2 separate regions of the Homo sapiens genome follow, and region 1 is linked to region 2. The links are contacts of gene promoters, found by promoter capture Hi-C in human tissues and cell types (Jung and others, 2019). All regions are on one chromosome and are shown on one strand. The core of a region is centred on a gene start or on the middle of the fragment in contact, and the rest is flanking DNA. Distances in the headings are between cores, read along the strand shown. Region 1 overlaps MGAT1 (alpha-1,3-mannosyl-glycoprotein 2-beta-N-acetylglucosaminyltransferase). Region 2 holds the start of BTNL3 (butyrophilin like 3).

Region 1 (4,930 bases), core at 1,380-3,879, 200 kb after region 2:
AAGGTGGAGAGGAGCCCCGGACTGTGCTCCTGCTGATCGTCCTGTAGAGCCAGGAGGCCGCAGCAGGAAAGCTGGTGAGTGTCTCCTGCTTCTGCCTCCTGCTGGCTGGGCAGGCCTGGTCTGGGGAAGAACCAGGTCCTCTGATCAGGGTGGTCCCTGAGTGGTGCTTTGTGCCCGGTGCCCTCTGCTGGCCCAGGCAGTGCTTATTGAGTGCCCTTTATGACGTGCCGGGGAGCCTCAGGGTACACAGCTGATACCAGGGTTGGCCTCACAGTGGCGCTTGGACTCCCAAACGCAACCCCAGTGAGAGTGCCTGTTTTGCTAATACCCAGAACACAGACAGACTGTTACCTCTGCATATCACGTGCAACATTCTGAGAGTTTCTGTTCTCCACTAATTCATTTAAAAGAACAAAACGCGGCCGGGCGCAGTGGCTTACACATGTAATCCCAGCACTTTGGGAGGCTGAGGCGGACGGATCACGAAGTCAGGAGTTCGGGACCATCCTGGCCAACATGGTGAAACCTAAAAATACTCTACTAAAAATACAAAAACTTGCTGGGCATGGTGGCACACACCTGTAATCCCAGCTACTCAGGAAGCTGAGGCTGGAGAATCACTTGAACCCGGGAGGCAGAGGTTGCAGTAATCCAAGATCATACCACTGCACTCCAGCCTGGGCGACAGAGCAAGACTCTGTCTCGGAAAAACAAAACGCTTTTTGTGACTCACGAACTTGATTTCATGAGTGGGTTTGAAAACCCTGGGCTAGTCCAGGCGCGGTGGCTCACGCCTGTAATCCCAGTACTTTGGGAGGCTGAGGCGGGTGGATCACTTCAGGAGTTTGAGACCAGCCTGGCTAACATGGTGAAACCCCATCTCTACTAAAAATACAAAAATTAGCTGGGTGTGGTGGCACATGCCTGTAATTCCAGCTACTTGGGAGGCTGAGGCAGGAGAATTGCTTGAACCCGGGACGGGGTGGTTGCAGTGACCTGAGATCGCACCACTGCACTCCAGCCTGGGCGGTAAGAGCGAAACTGCGTCTCAAAACAAAACAAACCAAAAACCCTGGGCTAGGCAACTTTCTTGGCAGAAACTACTTTGGAGCTCGACACCAGATGGTGGCAGAGTTGTCTGGGGAGCTGTGTCGAGGGCCGTGGCCTTGGGAGCAGCTCCAACCTCCCATCTGGGCTCAGAAACCAGTGTCAGACATTGGTTTTATTTTAACCTTTGAGATTTGTGTGGAGCGGGTTTTGCCTTCCCCTGTTGCTTAGATGGATTATTTAGCCATATTTTTTGTTAAATAAGGGGAGGTGGTCATTATCCGTGATTTCAGACGTGGAATCGGCCCGGCGATAGCTGCATTGTGCCCTTTCCGGTGGAGCCAGGAGGAGTTTGGCCGCCACGCTCCATGCGCATAGCATGTCATGCAGCTAGCCAAGTGCATTGTTCTGAGTGCTCCAGGATAAGTACCAACTTACTTAGTGCTCCAGGATAAGTACCAACTTAGTGCTCCAGGATAAGTACCAACTTACTTAGTGCTCCAGGATAAGTACCAACTTACTTAGTGCTCCAGGATAAGTACCAACTTACTTAGTGCTCCAGGATAAGTACCAACTTACTTAGTGCTCCAGGATAAGTACCAACTTACTTAGTGCTCCAGGATAAGTACCAACTTACTTAGTGCTCCAGGATAAGTACCAACTTACTTGATCCTCAGAGCAAGCCTAGGCGGTGGGTACTGTTTTGCTCCTGTTTTACCAGTGAGGAAGCAGGCACACAGAGGTGAAGTTGCCCAAGGTCACACAGATGGTTGAGGGAGAGCCGGATTGGAATGAACTCTGTGCTGTTAGCCACTGTGTGAGGCTGGACTGTTCCATTCCAGCCTTTACGGCCTCTTCCAGGCCATTCCCCAGCTGCACTTGGATTCTCAGGCCAGGCACCGGCGGTCTCCTGTGAGGGTGGAGAGGAAGAGGGGGCTGCGTGGCTCGGGGAGGTCCAGGAGAGATGGCGGGAGGAGTAGAGTTTGGGGCCTGCGGTGCCAGAGGACCCCCTTACAAGACGAAAGACTGGGTTCTCAGGCTCCTGAAGCAAGGAGCACCTTCAGGGGTCTCCTGGTATTCACCCATCAAGGCTTGCTCAGGTGGCATGCGTGTGTGCGTGGCGGCTGCCCCCGGGCCCGGAAGCGCCTGTGGATACCAAAGCAAGTGGAAATGCCAGATGGAAAAGCCCCGTGTTAGTCAATGCTGTAGAGTTCAGCCAGCCTCGAGTTTGCAGGTTTACAGAGCTGCCTTGCGCCTGGCTGCTGCTGCTGCTGCATTCCTGCTTCTGCCTCCAGCTGTGACCACCTCCTGCCACTCCTGCTCTCACTGTGGGTTCCTGCTCACTCTGTCTCCAGGACAGACTGCCTTCCGGGCAGCCTTCCCTCCTCAAGCCTCTTGGCCTTTGCAATCCTCTTACCTGGGTCACTGGTGGGATCTCATTTGTGGATCAAGTCGCCCCCAGTGGAGACAAATGTCTGATGGAGTCTGGCCAAGGCCCTCCTGAGCCTTCACTGGGCCCTGCATGAGAAGCCTGCCAAGGCTGAGGGGCCAGGGAAACGGAGACGAAGCCCTCAGAGCAGGCCAAGAGGGTGGGAGGTGGGGGGCATTTAGAGGGTTAGATACAGAGCACCCCTTTACAAATACCAGCTACTGGCTTTTCGTATTACATGTTCATTTTAGATACAACATACTGCACACGCTCCCTTAACGTGTGTTTACGCGTGGGTGGTGTATCCTTCCAGACGTCTTCCTCACATCTATACATAATATGCATAGATAAAACATTTACCACCAAAACCCATAGTGTTATGTACATATTTGTCTGGCTGTGTAACTTTAAATAACATACAAATGTATAGAACAGAAGCTTGCCCTCTTTCTGAAATATCTAACGTGGGATTTCAGGCTTTCTGATGAGACCTCTGTAGAGGTCAGTGTTTTGCCACCAGAGGTCCTTCAGCCTCCATCTGTTCTCCCACCTACCCACATTCTGGCCCCTGGCAATTCACAGGGAGTTTAGGAAGTAGACACCAGGGCCCTATTTCCTGGAGACCAGCCTGGTGGCCGATGTCATAGAGTGCGGTGGGCCTGGGCCGGCCCTGCTCTGGGCCCGTGACCTGCGTGTCTGACTCGGGTCCAGCTGTTCTTCCTGCCAGAGCCTCTTCCTGTGAGGCGGGGGTAACACAACCTTCTGTGGTGGCTGTGGGATTAATCCGTATGGCTGCATTGTGAGTAAAGCCTGGTGGAAATCTCTGTCTCCACTGCTTTCCTTTTCCTGCTGTTCACCTTGGCTCCCTCGACACTTAATCCCCCTCCACATGTGTCTGGAGCGGGCAGAGCGGGGGCAGTTGATAGAAAGGGGGCCGGGTAGTGCCAAGGCTGTTACTTTCCCCCACTGCCTCCCTTGGCTAACTTGAAGTCTGACCCTTTATACCAGAACTGTAAGACAGTGTGTCAGAATGGATTCAGTTGCAGAGCAGGAAGCCTGGATCCCAGCGCCGGACGGAAATGAGAGGTCGATGGTGCAGGCTGGTGTGGGGGTTCCTCCACCGTCAGGGCCCAGGCTCCTTCTCAGGTCTCAGTCTCACTCTTCTTAGCACGAGGTCAGGTCTCATTCCTTGGCTGCGGGAGCTCCAGCCAGCACACGTTTTAGGAAGAAGGAGGAAGGAAGAAGGTAAAGGGTGGATGGCAGCTGCCTCCTCCTCTCTTGGAAGCTCACAGAGCGCTGGGTCACAATTCCCTGGGTAGAACTGGATCACACAGGCACCCCTGTCAGCAAAAGAGGCTGGAAAAAGTATTTCTGAAGCTGAATCAAATTAAGATTCCTGTTACTAAGAAGGGAGTGATTGTATGGGCGACTACAGGGACCACGGCCATACACGGTGCCTGGAAGACCAAGCTTGTGACAGTGACGAGGATTTGGAGAGGGCAGGGTGATGGGGAGCTTTGGGGGGAGTGCATTAGGAACCCTGACCTGGAGAGGGGCAGAATGAAACCTGCGGGCCCCTAACCCTAGTGGGTTGTTTGAGAAACCTGTCCTACTGTGGCAGGGGGCTGAGTCTTCTCAGGGTCATGCATGAAAACTGAAATTCCTGAAGGCCACACACAGCCCCGGAAGTGCTGACTGACAAGGGCACATGCCAGTGATGCAGTTTTCTTTTTTGTCTTCACTTTTGTTGTTCCGCCGTCTTCAACACATGGCTCCCAGCTCACAGCAAATGCTGCCCTGGTTCAGCTACCAGGAAGCAGGAGAGGGGAAGGGAGGGCAAGCCTCATTCTTTATGGAACAAAAGCAGTGGGCAGACAGCCTTCCCTCACGTTCCACTCACTGGAATGTGGTCTGGCTGCCTTCCCTGCAGGAGGTGGGATGCACCCTCAGTGCAGCAGCCCTGCCCCAGCCAAAAACGTCTCAGCACAGCTGTAAGAAGAGGAAGATGGCTAGAGACAGGCAGCCTTCCCTGCAAGGGCAATGAGGCAAGCCTGCCAAAAGCCTCCTTTGGAAATACTGTTTGATTACTTTTCAGAGTTTCTATTTAGGAAAAGGGCAAAACCTTTCAGGATCAGGAGTAGGTGAGCGGCGATCAGGCCTCACTCTTCACCGAGGGCCTTCCCTGAGGAGGGGCCTGCAGGACGCTGGCAGCGGAATGGGGCTGTGTGGCTGCTAGATTAGGTCATGGCAGGGAGACAGCCTCTTCCTGGTTCTTGCTAGAACAGGCACACTTGGGGCCTTGAGCTCCAGGGAGTTCATGGAAGACATCTGACTACCCTGAGCCCCTTGCTGGAGGGTTCTGGGGAGTGGCCCACGGCCACCGTCACCCATGGCCACCGTCACCCACAGGGGCCGTGAGGACATCCCTGGCCAGCATCTAACACAACCACATGG
Region 2 (5,012 bases), core at 214-2,713:
CTAAGGTCATTTCCAGCATGCCCTGCTGCCTCATGCAGAAACAGAAAGCAGACAGAAAGGCTTGTCAGAAAATGGGTGAGAATGTACTTAAACGGAGGCTGTCTTGTGAGTAACATACGTGGATTGTGATTTTTTGTTTTTGTTTTTTTGAGACAAAGTCTCACTCTGTCACCCAGGTTGGAGTGCAGTGGCACGATCTTGGCACACTGCAACCTCCGCCTCCTGGGTTTAAGTGATTCTCGTGCCTCAGCCTCCCGAGTAGCTGGGACTACAGGCGCTCACCACCATGCCCGGCTAATTTTTGTGTTTTTAGTAGAGATGGGGTTTCACCATGTTGGCCAGGCTAGTCTCAAACTCCTGACCTCAGGTGATCCACCCACCTCAGCCTCCCAAAGTGCTGGGATTACAGGTGTGAGCCACCACGCCCTCTGAGCACACATGGATTTTGATCCCCTTATTTCTGTTTTGTTGGCTTTGTTTAGCAAAACAGTCATAGGTAGACAAATAGCAGGATGGAACTGTTCCAGACAGAAAGTGAACACAGTCAAATGAACTTTTTGTGGCTTAACACTGACCACCCAGAATCCAGTGTTCTACTCCAGCCCCTATCTCTCCCTGCAAAATTTATTTGATTACTGAATATCCTATACACCAGGCTTTGTCTTGATGGTTACTAGAAGGAGAAAGAAGAGTGGGTTTCTGCCTAGACTATGCCAGGTTCCAACTTACTCCTCACTTAAAGGTCTGGTGCTCTACCCCATAACTACAGGTGTTTCTAACTCAGCATGTGCATAACTGGACACATTGTCTTTTTCTCCAAACATCCTAAACAGTGCCACCTTCCACCCAGGCACCCAAGTCAAAAACCTGGGGATTTTATTAGAGACTTCCCCTGCCTAAGCCCCACAGCCCACCTGGGGAGAACAATGTGTTTACCTTGGCGTTCTCAATGTGTTCCCTCCCTGCTCCCAGGGCCTGCTCCCATTATTCTGAGCTACTGTGATAGTGCCCAAGTCCTTGAGAAACAGCCCAAGGAGTCTTCCTCAATTCCTGCTGCCCTGTGCTTCCCACAGCTCCTGGCATTGGTAGTTTCCAGCCTGAGGCCAGGAGAAGCTGGAGAATGCAAGCACCAAAGATTCCTGCATCTCACTGTGCTGAGATCATTGTCATGAATGAACTCAAAATATTATTCAACAAGGAGAAAAACAACAGTCCAAACTGAAAGGCTTACCTGACACCAGCTCGTAGAAACTGAGAACCAAAATGAGCACAAAAGCCATGGATATTCCTGTGGGTTGATCTCACACTATGAAAACAGATGACAGCAGGGGTGGATGGATGATTTGGAGGTCAGGCCAGCTGTCTCAGGCGCAGGAGCCGTGGAGAGGCTCTTCATGAACGATGTCAAACTGTGCATTTCTCCCTAGAGCCTCCCTAAACATGGCTGTATGAATGAGGAGTATGGGCACTGGAGTTTGAGTCACTGCATTTATTGGCAGGTCATAAACATCTATCTCAGACCAGAGAAATGATAATGGAAAGAGAGTAGGGTACACTTGGAGGGACTTTGTTCTGGGTTGTGCCCCACATAGGTGGTAAAGGAATGCCAGATGCAGAGATATTTTCAGGCTTAGTCTGGCAGGCAGAGCTGCAAGAGAGAGTGAACATCTGTCCCTGAAAGAGAGATTGGACGGGCGCAGTGGCTCATGCCTGTAATCCCAGCACTTTGGGAAGCCAAGGCAGGTGAATCACGAGGTCAAGAGATCGAGATCATCCTGGCCAACATGATGAAACCCCGTCTCTACTGAAAATACAAAAATCAGCCAGGCATGGTGGTGCGCACCTGTAGTCCCACCTACTTGGGCGGCTGAGGCAGGAGAATTGCTTGAACCGGGAAGAGGGAGGTTGCAGTGAGCCCAGATTGCACTACTACACTCCAGTCTGGTGACAGAGTGAGGCTCTATCTCAGAAAAAAAAAAAAAAAAAAAAAAAAAAAGAGATCATCTCAGCACAGGGTAGTGAGGCAGTGAATTTGCCCAGGCACACAGGCCATGCCCCATGAGACTCATATTTCCTGGCACAGCATGAGGTAATTCTGCCCATCCCTCCCTTGTCTTGAGTTCAGGGACAGGACTCTGATCATGAGGCCAGATTGTGTTGAACTTGCCAGAACAACCAGGACCTTGATCTCCAAGGATCCAAGGTATTGAGAAGGGGACCAAGACGATGTTTCAGGCCCGGGGGTAAGGCAAAGGCAAAGATGCATTCATTCAGTCATTCATTAGATGCACTAAGCCAGGACACACACAGTTAGGGATTATGCAGTGATTTCAAGTCTAGGGACATGCACAAAGAATAAGCACTTACTAGATCAGAAAGCAGGTTTCCACGGAGAGCACCACGAAGGACAACGAAGGTAAAGAGCAATTTAAAAAGAGGAAACCCCATGAACTTAGAAATTGTTAATAACACAATTTTAAATAACTAATGGGTCTAAGAGAACTAATAATAGAAGTTGAAGGTAATTAGACTAGAAGAAGAATGAAAACACTACATTTAAAATACTATGATGCATGTAAGGCAGTTCTTACAGAAAGGCTTATCCTTAAGTGCTTGTATTAGGAAAAAAGAAGTCTGAAATTGGCTGAACAAAGCATCTGAGTTAATCAGAGTTAACTCTTGGATCCTGAGGGTCTCTGGCCACTCGCCTTGTCTTTTCTCTCCCTTCACTTTTCTTTTTTTTTCCCCCACAATCTGTAAACATGTAATCCTACCTTAAGTACAAAGCCATTACAAATGCAAAAAAATCAAAGATTACAAGTCAATTTCTTTCTGCCTACAGTAATAGCTGAAATGTAAAGAGATCAACTTCAGAAAAAAATACATTGAAAAACATACCACTTTAATAAGACAAAACTGCAAATTAGATGAATAGAAATTAGGTAGATCCATTTATTTTTTAAATACAAGTATAATTTTGGAAGAGCTATTTGACAAATTCAGCATTAACTGCCAACTCTGTAGACATGTTTAACAACAACAACAAAACAAGACATTTACTCTTGGCCCTTTTAGTACAGGTGAAGTGTCCTATTGCATCACAAGTATTAGTAATGAAGTAACAGATCCAAGGGCATAATATTAAAGATGTTTTTTTCCAATTGCGATTTAGTTGAAAAATAACATAATACGAACATATATGAATGGCTATCAAGACCACCAGTGATCTGCAGAATACCTAGAGGCCTACGTACTTAGAAGGCTGAAACTAGTAAAACAGTATTAAAATCAGTGTTTTTATTCTAAGATGAGCAATGACAGAGTGAGATTTCTGATTCCAATTTTATAAGGTGCGGTGGGGAGTTGAGAGGAGATATTGGGGAAGACTGGCACTTTGTGCTGAGTTAGAGATGGGAATGTGGCTCAAATTAGTTAATATTCAGAGTAGGATATTGTTTTAGAAAATTTTAAATGCATTCTAAATTGTGGCATATTGAAAAGGATATTAAGGAACAATGATTCATTAGCCCTAAACACAATTTAGTGAGTGCCATCAGTAGGCTTAAGAAATAAGCAGGGATGGCAGATGATGAGGCAAAATGAGGTGAAATAGAAAATGGAAAGTGGAAAATATGCTTGAACATTGGAGAATGTGAAAAGACCACTAAAGAAACTGCTTTGGTGATCACTCAGAAGTGCTCTTCCCATTGGCTACCCGCTCCTGATCACCTCTTCCCATTGGCTACCCGCTCCTGATCACCTCTTCCCATTGGCTACCTGCTCCTGATCACCTCTTCCCATTGGCTACCCACTCCTGATCACCCAAACACCAATTTTAGAGCACAGCAGCAGTAACTCCCTTTATCTGCAATTTCACTTTCCATAGTTTGTTACCCGAGGCAACCTTGGTCCAAACATATTATGTGGAAAATTCCAGAAATAAACCATGTTTTAAATCACAAGCTGGTTGTGCACTGTGGCTCATTCCTGTAATCTCAGCACCTTGGGAGGCCGAGGAGGGCGGATCACCTAAGGTCATGAGCTCGAGACCAGCCTGGCCAACATGGTGAGACCCTGTCTCTACTAAAAATACAAAAATTAGCTGGGCATGTTGGCGGGCGCCTGCATTCCCAGCTACCTGGGAGGCTGAGGCAGAAGAACTGCTTGAACCCAGGAGGCAGAGGCTGCAGTGAGCCAAGGTCGCACCACTACTCCAGGCTGGGTGATAGAGCGAGACTCCCTCTCAAAAAAAAAAAATAATAATAAAATAAATCACAAGCCATGTAGTGATGAAATCTCATGATCCTCCTCCTCTGTCCTGCCTGGGATGTGAATCATCCCTTTGTCCTGCTTATCCACACAGGTTGTATACAACCTGCCCCTTAGTCGCTTAGTAGCCGCCTTGGTTGTCAGATTGAAAAAACATAGACTATACAGGGTTTAGTACTATCTGAGGTTTCAGGCATCTACTAGGGGTCTCGGACTGTATCTCTTGCAGATAAGGGGAGACTACTGTATTACATTTCAGCTTCCATAAAACTTTACTAATTCGGATTAAGAACACAAGCCTGATTTTGTAAAAAGCATCCATAAATATTCAGAGGTATAGTTTTGCTTCATCAAGTAAAAAGAGCAACTAATTCCAACTGTTGAAGTAGTAACAAGTAAAGGCTTCACCAGGCTTGCCTTGATGAATAGTTAAGACACATTTTCAGGTCAACAGCACAAGATTATTGAATAACTTTTATGCTACAAACGCTGCTTCCACTCATCGAAACAACCCAACAATCCTTACTATTCCAATTTGCTGAGAACCATGTCGGATGCTGCCTTCAAGAATGAAATGTTCCTCAAAACTGTTCTATCAAAGGCAGTAGCTATTGGACATAAAACAGGTGATTTATTTCAGACTTTAGTTAGTTTTCATGAAGTCTTCATCTCCAACTTCAGTTTATTCCAACATTAATTTATGATAGGACAGTTATTAAAATTAGCCATTTCTCAGACTATAG

What was found. The method cuts DNA at HindIII sites, captures the fragments that hold promoters and counts their contacts. A contact is called where the count stands out against the background at its distance.
Region 1: a fragment that was not itself captured here is called in contact with the fragment with the promoter of BTNL3 in region 2 in 1 of the 25 tissues and cell types used here (H1 embryonic stem cells).

Annotation. Positions count from the first base shown.
Region 1 is chr5:180,785,420-180,790,349 of GRCh38, reverse strand. MGAT1 (alpha-1,3-mannosyl-glycoprotein 2-beta-N-acetylglucosaminyltransferase) reads left to right here. Exons shown (of 2, transcript NM_002406.4): 2 at 1-4,930. Among named protein-coding and RNA genes, the nearest start is that of MGAT1, 15 kb to the left of the region's middle. RefSeq lists enhancers at 3,493-4,403, 4,404-4,930. The HindIII fragment of the contact is 7,218 bases long and covers 1-4,930 here.
Region 2 is chr5:180,985,297-180,990,308 of GRCh38, reverse strand. It overlaps BTNL3 (butyrophilin like 3), which reads right to left and starts at 1,463. Exons shown (of 8, transcript NM_197975.3): 1 at 1,232-1,463. The coding sequence starts at 1,280. It also overlaps the pseudogene ARPP19P1. The HindIII fragment of the contact is 12,362 bases long and covers 1-5,012 here.